2 separate regions of the Homo sapiens genome follow, and region 2 is linked to region 1. Evidence: promoter capture Hi-C in human tissues and cell types (Jung and others, 2019). All regions are on one chromosome and are shown on one strand. The core of a region is centred on a gene start or on the middle of the fragment in contact, and the rest is flanking DNA. Distances in the headings are between cores, read along the strand shown.

Region 1 (6,529 bases), core at 1-2,500:
ATGTGCAAATACTGTAGGAAATATAGGAAGATAGAACACATTATCCCCATTCTTAAGATTCTTATGACAGTAAATGGAAACACAAAGGCCATTATTGACTAGCGGGAGTAAGATCGCTGTCCTTTAAATCACCTTCTTCATATTTGCATTCTCTGTGTGCTGTTTCTTGGCTCTGGGTTTCTCTCCTGCCTCATCTACACTAATCCTTTTCACTTCTTCATTCAAAACTGTACCTAGATTTATCTGCTCCAGGAAGCATTCCCACTCAAGTCTTGGTCCTGGGTTGAACTGACTCCTCCTCAGAATTGATGGATATAGCTTATCCAGTGTTATTGCACAGTCTTCAACTATTTCACATGGGCCTATGTGTCATGTTAGCTGGCCAGAAAAGAAGCTTTCTGGGGACCCTACCCTCCTGTTTCTCACTTCCCCTCTCTCCCTTTTTTTTTTTTTTTTTTTTTTTTGAGATGGAGTCTTACTTTGTTGCCCAGCCTGGAGTGCAGTGGCAGAATCTCTACTCACTGCAACCTCCGTTTCCCAGGTTCAAACAATTCTCCTGCCTCAGCATCCCTGGTAGCTGGGATTACAGGCGCACACCACCATACCCTGCTAATTTTTGTATTTTTAGTAGAGATGGGGTTTCCCCATGTTGGCCAGGCTGGTCTCGAACTCCTGACCTCAGGTGATCCACGAGCCTTGGCCTCCCAAAGTACTGGGATTACAGGCGTGATCCACCATGCCCAGCACCACCCCCCCACCCCCTGCCTCCTCTTAACCTACTGTTCTGTATATAGCCCAGGGCATGCTACTGAATGAATAGTCACTGTTGAATAGTCACTGTTTCATTGCTTGGTAATTCAGATCAGAAACTCATGGTGTTTCCCCTGGGTTTATCTGCAGTTCAGAAAAGTGACCCTGACTACATGCTTTGATTATGCCCTTTGCTCACAAAAAGATGATTAGTTTTGATTGTGCAGCATTTGGAATGAAGGAATTTAATCTGGAATGAAGGAACTTTAAAAGGTTGGGGGAATATCACATTGGAACTGTTAAATGACATGCAAACAGGATCTGTGAGAATGGTTTTGATTCTGCTCTGTGTCCTGGTAGGAGACACTAAATAGATCAGGCTCACTACCAATTAGCATCATCTTAATCTTGCCTAATAGTGAAGCAAAGTCACCAAGGATTTGGTGGATTTATCAGCTCCTCCCACAATAGTCATCTGAGGCTAACACCTCTTGGAACCTAGATCGAAAGTCCTTTGGTAATGATGTGTCATACATTCTAGTCATCAAAGACACCATTTTCTGGGCCTGAAGTGTTCTGCTGGTTTTTGGAGGAATGAGAATCCAATCTCTCATAAGCCGGATTCAGAAAATAGGTCATCGATGTGAGTTGCAGTTATTTTCCTTCCAGCTTTCTTCTGTGCTTGCTTTAGATTGTTTTTCTGCAAAGGGCAGATGCAGCTGCCCTGGCTGGTGGGCAGTGGAGGGGGATGACAGCCACTCTGGCTTTGGGCCTCTGTCTGACATCACCCAGATTCCTGGGTCCTCTCAGTTAGCATTTGCCTTTTGTCTGGGTGGTTAAATTTCTCTTGAAGGAGTAGGATAAACACCCTCTTGAGTATTGCTTTTTACACAGACACACACCACACACACACACACACACACACACACATACACACAGCATAGTTCATAGTCACTTGATTTGCCACCTGCAGTTTATAATAGAATGGACCTGTGGGATTATAAACCACTTTATTTCTGCACAGAATTTCTCAGCTTGAGGCCAAATTGAAGGGCATTAGTCATCAGTAATTTGCAGATGTTTTTAATGTTTTTCACCCAAGAGAGGTTTCAGGCAGCTAAAGCTAAGATAAATTTCCTCATGCTTTGGTGGGGAAATGAAAAATCTGATCATTTAGTTAATCATTTGTAAGAGCTGTGGGTATGTATTGTTCCTTAGTGACTGCAATATCATGACAGATTTGTTAATTTGGTAACATGACAATGTAAACAATAGTAGATAAATTCCATTATGCCATGATTCTTTTCTTCCTCTCAGTAATTTTGTATATTCAAGGTTTAAAATCCATAGAACATTAGAGATGGAACTTAGAGATCAACCTAGAGATCATTGGATTCCTCTACCAAGCTCTGTCAAATGCCAGTCCTGAGTGTCTCCCCTGGAGCATCAGGATAAATAGCTAATGCATGGGGGGCTTAATAGGTGCAGCCAACCCACCATAGCACATGTTTATCTGTGTAACAAACCTGCACGTCCTGCACATGTAACCTGGAACTTAAAATAAAATAAAATTTAAAGAAAGGAAAAGAGTACATAATCAGTGGAACCATAAAGGTCAGTTCTAGTGGGAAAATTAGGAAAGGCCTCCTAGAAGAGAAGACATTTGAGCTATACTTGAACAGGCCCTATCTAGCAGCATCCAGATAGGTGGTTTGTGAAGAAGCCAGTTCCTACTCTTACGTCTTTACCATGGTTATGGTTTGAATGTCCCCTCCAAAGATCATGTTGAAATTTAATTGCCATTGTGAGAAGAAATGGGACCTTTAAGAGGTGACTAGGTCATGAGGGCTCTGCCCTTATGAATGGATTAATGCTGTTATTGTGGGAGACGGCTCCTAGTAAAAGGATAGGTTCAGTCTCCTTTTTCTCTCTCTTGAGCTCTCACTCTCTTGCCCTGTCTCACTATGTGAGACCTTCCACCATGTTATGATGCAGCAAGAAGGCCCTCACCAGATGTGGCCCCTTGATCTTGGACTTCCCAGCCTCCAGAACCATGAGCCAAATAAACTTCTATTGTTTATAAATGATGCAGTCTGTGGTATTCTGTTACAGCAGCAGAAAATGGACTAACACAACTATTATGCACTTGCTTATGTATTGGTTTGGAATTATTCTCTAATTTACTCACGCTTGTATGGTATGTGTTTCCTTATTCTGTGTATCTCTGGGTGTTATATTTAATATTTGTACAGATTTCCTCTGACATTTCACAGTTCAGGTTTCCGATTTCTTCTTTCTAAAATCTATTCTCTAGATTTGAAAGCATTCTATGATTTGTGATTCATATATACCATACTATAACATCTAGAAAAAATATTCTGAATAGCATACTGAGCAATGGAAATCTTCATCATGAATTTTCTAATGAGTATAAAATGTTGCTGGGCAAGTTTCTATTTAAATCATGCTCGCTAGGCTTGACTAACTGCAGACATTCACAGGGTGCATGCTGCAGAGTGCTTTACTTTCAACAAGGTAAGGCTGTACCTCCGTTAGGGACTAATTCAGGGTATTCAACAAGGGATCAGACTAGACCAATTTGGGGTTGTTAAGGAACTAAAACTAGCTCACGAGAAACTCAAATCAGCTCATGAAAAGAGGGGCTGCTTGGAAGAATGCAGTAGGAAATTTCATGGGTTACAAGGACAGACAGCAAAGCTTAGCAGGCCTCAGAGGGCCAAGATGTAGAATTCACAGTGAACCCACTCACTAATCCTCTTTGTCTCACTCTCTCAAGCATGGTCCTTTCAGTTTCTTATTTCTCTGTTTTCTTTTTCTTCTCAGGATGAGCCTCTGTTTCATATGGTTTCTGCTATCCTCTGACTTCAGCACACATTTGGGTCATAATAGTCTCCTCTGTAGAGATCTCTTATATGTTTTTTTAAAAAATATTTATTTTAAAAAGTAGAATAACATATGCACTAGCAAAAAACATGACTAAAAATGTGTAATAATTTTAAAAAGCATATAAATTTCTCTCTTTTCCAAACTCTCTGATTTTTACCACCTCTCCCTAAAGTTTAAGAGTTTCCTGTGTAGCCTTCTGGAAAAATGTATATAAGGATATACACATACATAGAGACATACACACAAATATACACATAAAATGACTAGAAATGCAAATATTCTTTGTATTTACACAAAAATTGTCCTCTCTATACACTATTCAACACTTTTAAAACAAATCTTAATTGTATATTTGGCATTCTTTCCATATTAATTGGCAGAAAATTTACCTTTTTTCTTTTTGGTGGTTACCTGTGGCTACATTGTATTTAATTTTATGTAACTATTATGATTTATTAGATAATCTCTCCATGATGATGGGCCTCTAGGTTGTATCTGGTTTTCTACTGAAAATAATACTATAGTGAACAATCTTGTATGTCTATCTACTTCAAGTTTAATAGAGTTTTAGCTCTTACATCTGTTTAATGATTAAAGTTAATTTTTATATGTGGTGTAAGGATAAAGATTCTTTTTTTCTTTTTGCATATTGCTCTACAATTGTTTTAGCACTGTTGAAAAGTTTTCCTTTCTAGTATGTAGAAATATAATTGAATTTAAAATATTGACCTTGTTTGTATCCTGTAATTCTGATAAACTCACTAATTAGTTCTAGTAATGTTTTTATAAATTCCATCAGTTTTTTAAATAGATAATCATGTAATCTTCAAATTAAGCCCATTTTACTTCTTCCCTTCTAATCTGGATTTTTAAATTTTCTTTTTCTTGACTTATTATTCTGGCTTCACCACAGTATTCAATATAAATGATGAGAGCAGACATCCTTGGCTTCTGATCTTAAGGTGAAAGCATTCGGTTTTTCACCATTAAGTGTGGTGTTAACTTCAGGTTTTTCCTAGATTCCTGTATCAGATGAAGAAGTTCCTTTCACTTTCTAGTCTGTTGAGAGATTTTTGTTGTTGTTTTTAAATTTTGAATAAATGTTGAATTTTTTGTGAATGCTTTTTCTGCATCGATCGAGATGATGGTTTTTCTTTTATGTTCTGTTAATATAAATCTAAGTGTGCTTTTTTTGATTATATATGTAAAGTAAATGCCTACCAGTAGAATTACAGAGACAAAGGGAATGGGCATTTGGTAGATTTTGACTAATAATTCCTCACAAAGATTGTTTACGCTTTCGCTCATGTTGTCTCAGAGTGCTTATTTCTCTTAACACTATTATCAAACTTCTAAAAATCTTGACAGTGTGATAGGAGACAAATGGTATCTCATTAGTTTGATTTGCCGTTTAAAATTTACTAGTGAGATTTAGCATCTTTTATACATTTAAATTTTTTGAGTCTTTTTCTTTTTTATTGTATATACTCTTGATAGAAAATTAGCTCCTGATACAAACCTTCTTTTCTATTTATTTTTTGGAAAAATGTTAGTACTTACAACAATTCTTTTGGTTGTAGAGACCTTTTTACTTGTATGCAATTATGTTTATCAATTTTTTTCTTAGGGCTTGTGAGTTTTCTATTCTACTTGAAAATATTTCTTGCCTACACCAAGACTATAATGTATTTAGCTATATTTTTTTAAAAAATTTTGAGCCACCATACTCTATTTTGGAGAAAGGAATGAGGTAGCAATCTGGCTTAACTTTTTTTCTGAACAGCCAGCAAGTTAAGCCAGCATAATTTATTGAACAGTATTATTTAGTCCATCTTTTGCCTATTGATTTGTAATGTGATTTTTATCATAAACCCTATTTCTTTGTGTATTTGAGTCTACTTTTGGTTTCTAGTCTAACGATCTGACTACTTATTTCTACCCCTGTGGCATAATGTTTTAATTACTCTAGCAGTATAACATGTTTTAGTGTCTGGTCAAATTATGTTCACTAATTATTCTTTTTTAAAATTTTCATGTTATGTGTTTTTCTTTTTCTGTTTCTTTTTTTTTTTTTTTGAGACTGAGTTTCACTCCATTGCCCAAGGTGGAGTGCAGTGGCGTGATCTCAGCTGTCTGCAACCTACGCCTCCCAGGTTTATGTTATTCTCCTGCCTCAGCCTCCTGAGTAGCTGGGATTACAGGCACCTGCACCACACCCGGCTAAGTTTTCTGTTTTTAGTAGAGACGAGGTTTCACCATGTTGGCCTGGCTGGTCAAACTCCTGACCTCAAGTGATCTGTCTGCCTTGGCCTCCCAAAGTGCTGGGATTACAGGTGTGAGCCACTGTGACCAGCCCTCATGTGTTTAATTTTCTAATGAAGTTTAATATCATTTTGTCAAATTCTTAAAAAAAAACAAAGCGGCTGGGCGCTGTGGCTCATGCCTGTAATCTAGGACTTTGGGAGGCCAAGGCGGGTGGATTGCCTGAGCTCAGGAGTTCAAGACCAGCCTGGGCAACACTGTGAAACCCCGTCTCTACTAAAATACAAAAAAATTAGCTGGGCGTGGTGGCATGCACCTGTAATCCCAGTTACTTGGGAGGCTCAGGCAAGAAAATTGCTTGAACCTGGGAGGCAGAGGTTGCAGTGAGCTGAGATCACACCATTGCACTCCAGCCTGGGCCACAGAGCAAGACTCTGTCTCAAAAAAAAACAATTATTTACTTTCAGACTAAATTTAGGAAGAATTGACATCTTCACAGTAAGGTTTTCTATCCAAGCATAAGGTATATGGTTTTGCATTTTTTTGGTCTCTTTTCATTTAATCCATTGATTTTAAGATTTTACTTTTATACATTCTGCTCTGTTCTCGT
Region 2 (6,529 bases), core at 2,027-4,526, 750 kb after region 1:
GATACTTCTTCCAGAAGAATAGATTACTTCCGGTTTTTTAGCCTGTAGACATTTGCTTCTGTTGGACTTCACTTTTCTGCTGCCTCTGATGTTTCAAAATACCAACCTGCCTGCAGCAGATTCTTACTCCAATTGAAGCTGACTTGACAATAATCTACCACGTGTTCCCTCCATCATGTTGTATTATTTATATTAGCTTTGGCAATATCCTTGAGATTTTACTATTTGCCTTCTGTTGGAGCGTATTCTCCAACTAAAAGAGGAAACAACTGGCACCAGGAAAAATGGAGCAATCATTCTCACATTTTTTCAGTCCCAAACCAGGTGGGCCCTGTACCTCACCCTCACACCCTCCACCAACTGCTGCTAAAGAAATAACATGGGTTTTTACCATCACCCTGGGAATTAGGAAAAAAAAGAAAAAAAACCCACAGATTTTGATGAGACACAAATAGTAGCCACAGAGGTCACTTACTAACTGATTCTGAAAAAAAGGCTTTGAAGCTATTCATTACACACATTCAATTCAAATCAATAAACACTACTACCATGTTCCCAATACTCAACCAGGAACTGGGGATCTCAAGATGAAAAAACATGATCGGCTGGGTGTGGTGGCTCACACCTATAATCCCAGCACTTTGGGAGACTGAGGTGGGAGAATCATGTGAGCCCAGGAGTTCGAAACAAGCCTGGCAGCATAATGAGACGTCGTCTCTGCAAAAAATCAAAAAAATTAGCTGGGTGTGGTAGTGCGTGCCTGTAGTCTTAGCTACTCGGGAGGCTGAGGTAGGGATGATTTTGAGCCCAGGAGGTGGAGGCTGCAGTGAGCTGTGATCACACCCCTGCACTGCAGCCTGGGAGACAGAGTGAGACCCATTTCACAAGAAAGAAAGGAAAAAAAAGAAGGAAGGAAGGGAGGGAGCGAGGGAATGAGGGAAAGAGAAAGAGAGAAAGAAAAGAAAGAAAGAAAGAAAGAAAGAGAGAGAGAGAGAGAGAAAGAAAGAGAGAAAGAAAGAAAGAAGAAAAGAGAGAGAAAGGAAGGAAGGAAGGAAGGAAGGAAAAAAAAAATATGATCCTTGCTCTGAATGAATGGACCACGAATGGTGGAAGACAGGCCTGTGATGATGACGATGATGTCATAGAAATGAAGGAACTGTTTCATGGCAAGGAGAGAGTCACACTGACCTTAAGGATAAATAAGTAACATTTGAGATGGGACTTAAAGGATTAGGATTTTTTCAAAGTTAGGATTTTTTAAGTGGAAAATGTAAGGAAGGGCATTCCAGAAGTAGAGAATAGCATGAATAAAATCAAGAAGGTAAGAAAGTAAATGGCTTGTGTGGAGAATAACAAGCAGCCACTCATGAGGCTGAAACATACACTACAGCTCTAAGGAAGGGCTGGACTTGCCCATGGACCACCAACGATCCACAGCCTGGGTTCTATAGGCCGCGGCTGCCATCAGACATATGGGAGACAACTGGTCCAAAAATTTTGACCACTGAACATGGCAGCAGCTTCCATCATAAAGAGGGTTATAATTGCCAAGCAGAATGAGAACATTATAATTAGATCTAGTTCTTCCATTTATTCTCTTGCATTAAATGTATTAATTTGTTGAATTAGCTGCTAGGCATTCTGGTAAATATCAAGAACATAGAGCCAACTCCACTGCAGACCCTGTCCTTGAGGAGCCTAATAACTGGAGATTTCATTTATGGATTTATGGATTTATTAGGCCTCCTAAAAATCTGCTATTCACTTACCGATAGCAAAGAAAATTATTTTTAAATTTTAAATAATATTTTCTTATTACAAAAGCACTTCATGAGCATCATAGAATATGGAACCAGCCAAAACAAAAAATAAAATATCTCTGTCACCACCCAGAGATCACCACTGTAACCCTTGGTTCATATTCTCCTCCCACATCTTCATATGCATACATACATATTAATCTGTATTTTGAGGACATGTTTTTCATTTTGTCTACAGACACATCCCGTCTTGTAACCAGCTTTTAAAAAAGACAATAATTTCCACGTTTCCATGTGAATAACTACTCTTCTAATACTCAGTACATATTCAAATTTCTCCAAATGAACCAAAAATGTCCTTTACGCTTATTTCTCCAAGTTGGCCCCCAACTCAAGCCCTTGCAATGTGTCTCTTGGTTATATTCTTCGGGTTCCTTTTAATCTGGCATAGGCCCTTTCATAGGACTCTGACTCGACAAAGAGAACTGGCCAGCTGTCCTGAAGGAAGGCCCACTTCCTGTATTTGCCTGGTTCCCTGTGGTGTCATTTTACTTGCTCCTCAATTCCCCTTACTTCCTGTAAACATCAAACTCAAGATGCCATAGAGGCAAGTTAACCACCTTGGGCTAGAATACTTCATGGGCGATAGCACGTACTTTACATTGCATCACATAGGAATCCACATAATACCTGGTTGACGCAACATCAGTCCAACTGACCACAAAGCAACTAGGGGTTTCAGAGGGAGTACACGTAAGGGGCAAAAGCAGCAACGGAATACGACAACGGAATAAGCATGAATACGACCTGGCTACCTGAAGGAGGTAGGACGGGGAACCGAGCAGCAGCAGGTGGTGGAATGCCAGGGAAATCCAACCGTGCTTCCCACGCTGGCATCGCTCTGATTATGACCAATCCTCTAATCTTATTCTCACAATTAGGGAGGAAGAAAAAAAAACAAACCCAAACCAAAAAAGAAGTTGGTAGGTGACTCTGTGAGACTACTGTTTTATAAAGGGAGCGTTTCCTTTTATAAAATTTAGCTGAGCAGATGCTAGGCAGCCCACAGGAGGCCACTATTCCCCTCAGCTGTACAGTTTGGGAAAATACCTACACACCCGGAGAACAGAGAGCTTGGTGTGTGTTGAGTTCGCTCCTGTTCATCAGCAGCCCTTTCCCCGCCTCTGGCCACCAGGGGGACCTGCAACCAAGTATGTGTTCTTTCAGGCGAGCGGGAACGCGTCTGCATAAATCTAGTCCAATCCAGGGCCCCGTAGCAAGGCGCCAAAGCTGGGGGAAGCGCATTTCTGTTCTCTCGCGAGCACGACGCGGTGCCTCCCAGTCCTCCTCCGGCCCTCCCTCTCCGCCCTCCCGGCCCGCGAGCGCTCGGGCCCCTTCCAGTGGCTCGCGGCAGGTGGCGCTGTCTGCGGCGTCGCAGCGGCCCGGGCTGCAGCAGAGACGATCTCCCGGCGGGCTGTGCGGCCCGGCTCTCCGGCGGCAGCGAGTGCCACGTCCCAAGTGCTACGCGGAGGATTAGAGCAGGCGGTGCGCTGGGGGCGGGAGCAGCGCGGAGCCCGGCTCGGCCACACCGATCGCCCGCCGCCATGGGCTCCTCGCAAAGCGTCGAGATCCCGGGCGGGGGCACCGAGGGCTACCACGTTCTGCGGGTAAGGGCTCCGACGGCGGCCGGGGAGCTGCGGGCTGGAGGCGGGGCCGGCCGCGGGGAGGCGGAGGCCCCCATGGGCTCCTTCACGGGGCAGCCAGGCCCGATCCCGCGAAGGAGCGGCGGTCGCGGGCGCTGCCTTGGTCGAGGCTGGTTCCGGAGGCCGCTCGCATCCCACCTCCGCGGAGCGCCCTGGGCACGGGGTCCGCGGCTGTAGGAGGACGGGCTGGAGCTGGAGGCGGCTGCCGGCGACTCGGCCAGGGGGCGGCCCTGGGAAGGGGGGACAACCTTGCTCTTTTTCCGCACGGCCTTCTCTCTCCTCCACCCCCCCTCATTTTTAGCTTCCAAAGTTAGGAAGGGCGCGGAGGCAACGTCTCCAAAGTGGTGACTGTGAAGGCAGCCTTTGCGCTTTCCTAGGAGAGGGATCCGGACCCGCAGTCCGGAGGCGGGGCCTGCGGCGGCAGGTGTTAAATCACCTCGGCGCCGGCCGAGTGGCCTGAAAGACCAGCAGGGCAGGAGACGGAAAACCAAATGGCCTGGAAGTAGGTTCGACGGACTTAAACAGACTTGATTTTGACCAGACTTTTCCTTTCCCGTGCCACTCCTGACCCTCCCAAACCTTCTCAAGATTTCCTGGAGTGGGAACTTCCGTTCTGTTCCGATTGCTGAGGGTGTGGTTTAGATTATAAGGTTTAGATCCACAGTGGTAAAGAGGTAGTGCAGAGAAATTTTTTTTAAAAATCGGAGTATATAAAGGAAAACAACCCTAGCTTAACTTCCAGGACGCAGAGAAACATAGTATCTCAAAAGGCGTCAGCTAAGCCCCTACCTATGAACGGCCTGGGCCTGGGTGGTACAAAGCATGTGGTCTTTTCCTCATGGAACCGGGCGACTTTAGAAGTAGCATTGATGGTTGTTTGCTGTGACACCTGTGTGAGTGTTAACATGAACAGTCAACAGAGTGGCCGCAGCGTGTAGCGCCATTTAGGGGTGTAATAGAGTGTCACTCAATATTAGCTCCTCACAGGCAAGAACGTTTTCACTGAAAGTAAGAGAGTGCACTTCCTGGTGCTACCTTCATTTCCTGCCCTGGGTCCCATGTTTTAGGTGAGACACATTCTTAAATTGCCCAGCTGTCTATGTGATAGGGCTGAGACAGATCATCTTTCTGATCTTCCGGATTATCGTGTCTATTGCCTTTCCATTACACTAAAAATCCCTCCTCTGCCATACTCTTAGTAGGAAAGGGTGATTTTTTTTTTCCCCGAAAGGAAAAGGGAGCCTATAAATAAACCGTATTATCTTCCTATCCCCTTCTGCTAACCAAACACCCAAGAGCCACACTGAGAGAGGAAATGGAAGGAGAATTGTCAGTTCCCAAATGTGAGGTGAAAGCTGTGCTTTTCTTTCTATTATCTGGTCTGATTTTGAGTTCTCTACCCTGGGATGTTACCCAGTATTACCAGCTGTTTCTCACAGTGACCGATTGTGGTCATGAATCCTTGGGGATTCATGATATTTTTATAATACATGCACTCAGGGAAACTCAGTAAAACACATTAGTGTTAATAAGCAAAAAAAAAAAAAAAAAGTCGCGTGTTTGAAAGAAAGCCATACACATCAAAAGGATTCCAACTTAGTGACTGCATTCCGACATAAAATGAGTTTGTATTTTCTTTATGTAAGTGCAGTCAAGTGAAACAGCATTCATACATATTCAGTAGTGCAGATGTGTTATTAATCTATACATCTGATTTTTAGAAAAACTAGGGACAACCTTAGTTACCAATCTGCATCTGGAGCATTAATGTTGCACACGATGAAATAATTCTTATTTAGTTAGACTTTTACTAAAGAGAGCTTTAAAATAGTAATGATCTAGTTTAGGAGAATTTTGTGTCTGCCTTCCTAAGACCCTCTGCCCCTGATTCTGTAATTGGTTTTCTTATCTTTGTTTTTAGAGGGAAAAGTGCTGTGTTAAATCTTAACATGTAAAAATGTCTTCCTTTCATTTGTTATTGCCTAAATGGACAGCGATATATTTCATTGTTAGATTACCAAGCTTGTAAACTGGAGTAACTGTGGCAGGAAAATTTTGAATAAAATCACCCATATTCAACAAGTTCTAGAACGATTTAATTAGAAGTTAGTTTTCTTGAATAACCAATTCCCTGGCCAATCTTGTTGTAGTAAAAACTTAATATGATTGACTGGGTTTTGAAATACCAATTATAATAACATTTATATCCACTGCTGTCTTTTGATTTCATGAGTCCCTATAATTCAGATAGATTGAGCTTTCCATTTTTTTCATTATTTTTCAATATCCATCTAAAAATATTTAGGGGACAGCCTTTAAATGGATTCAGAAGTTCTGCTATGAGCAGTGTAGTTCCTTTTTATGTGTTCTGTATGTATGAGTGCATATTTTCAGATTGTGATCATATTGTGTACCCAACTTCTTATCCCCACTCCAGAGTAACCACTGTGGACAGTTTTTTACATAGCCTTTCAGATATATTTTATGCTTATAAAAAAGTCTCTTTGGCCGCGCACAGTGGCTCACACCTGTAATCCCCACTTTGGGAGGCCGAGGTGGGCGGATCACCTGAGGTCAGGAGTTCGAGACCAGCCTGACCAACATGGTGAAACCCCATCTCTATTAAAAATATAAAAAATTAGCCGGGCATGGTAGTGCACACCTGTAATCCCAGCTACTTGGGAGGCTGAGGCAGGAGAATCACTTGAACCTGGGAGGCGGAGGTTGCAGTGAGCTGAGATTGTGCCATTGCACTCTAGCCTAGGCAAAAAGAGTGAGACTTCTTTTCAAAAAAAAAAGAGTCTCTTCTTCTTCCACCCTTCTCTCTTTCTTTTTGTTACCTTGTAATCATGATCCATGCTGTTGCACACCTCAGTCTTCTCAGTTGTTGACCTATCTTGGCAGTCTTTCTGTAGTAGCAAGTGGCCATCTGCTTCATGCTTTCAGTTAGCTCACGGTAGTCTTTTGTACCATAGATTGGTTAAGGAGTACCTCCTGGTGTTGAACATTTGGTTATCTAGTCTTCTGTTATTATAAGTACATATTTACAACCTTAAATCCTACTTT

Evidence for each region. The method cuts DNA at HindIII sites, captures the fragments that hold promoters and counts their contacts. A contact is called where the count stands out against the background at its distance.
Region 2: the fragment with the promoter of GORASP2 here is called in contact with the fragment with the promoter of MYO3B in region 1 in 1 of the 25 tissues and cell types used here (mesendoderm cells).

The regions. Positions count from the first base shown.
Region 1 is chr2:170,176,897-170,183,425 of GRCh38, forward strand. It overlaps MYO3B (myosin IIIB), which reads left to right and starts at 1,251. Exons shown (of 35, transcript NM_138995.5): 1 at 1,251-1,393. The coding sequence starts at 1,392. RefSeq lists an enhancer at 3,433-3,662. The HindIII fragment of the contact is 10,734 bases long and covers 1-6,529 here.
Region 2 is chr2:170,925,977-170,932,505 of GRCh38, forward strand. It overlaps GORASP2 (golgi reassembly stacking protein 2), which reads left to right and starts at 3,277. Exons shown (of 10, transcript NM_015530.5): 1 at 3,277-3,427. The coding sequence starts at 3,365. RefSeq lists a silencer at 3,056-3,755. The HindIII fragment of the contact is 18,146 bases long and covers 1-6,529 here.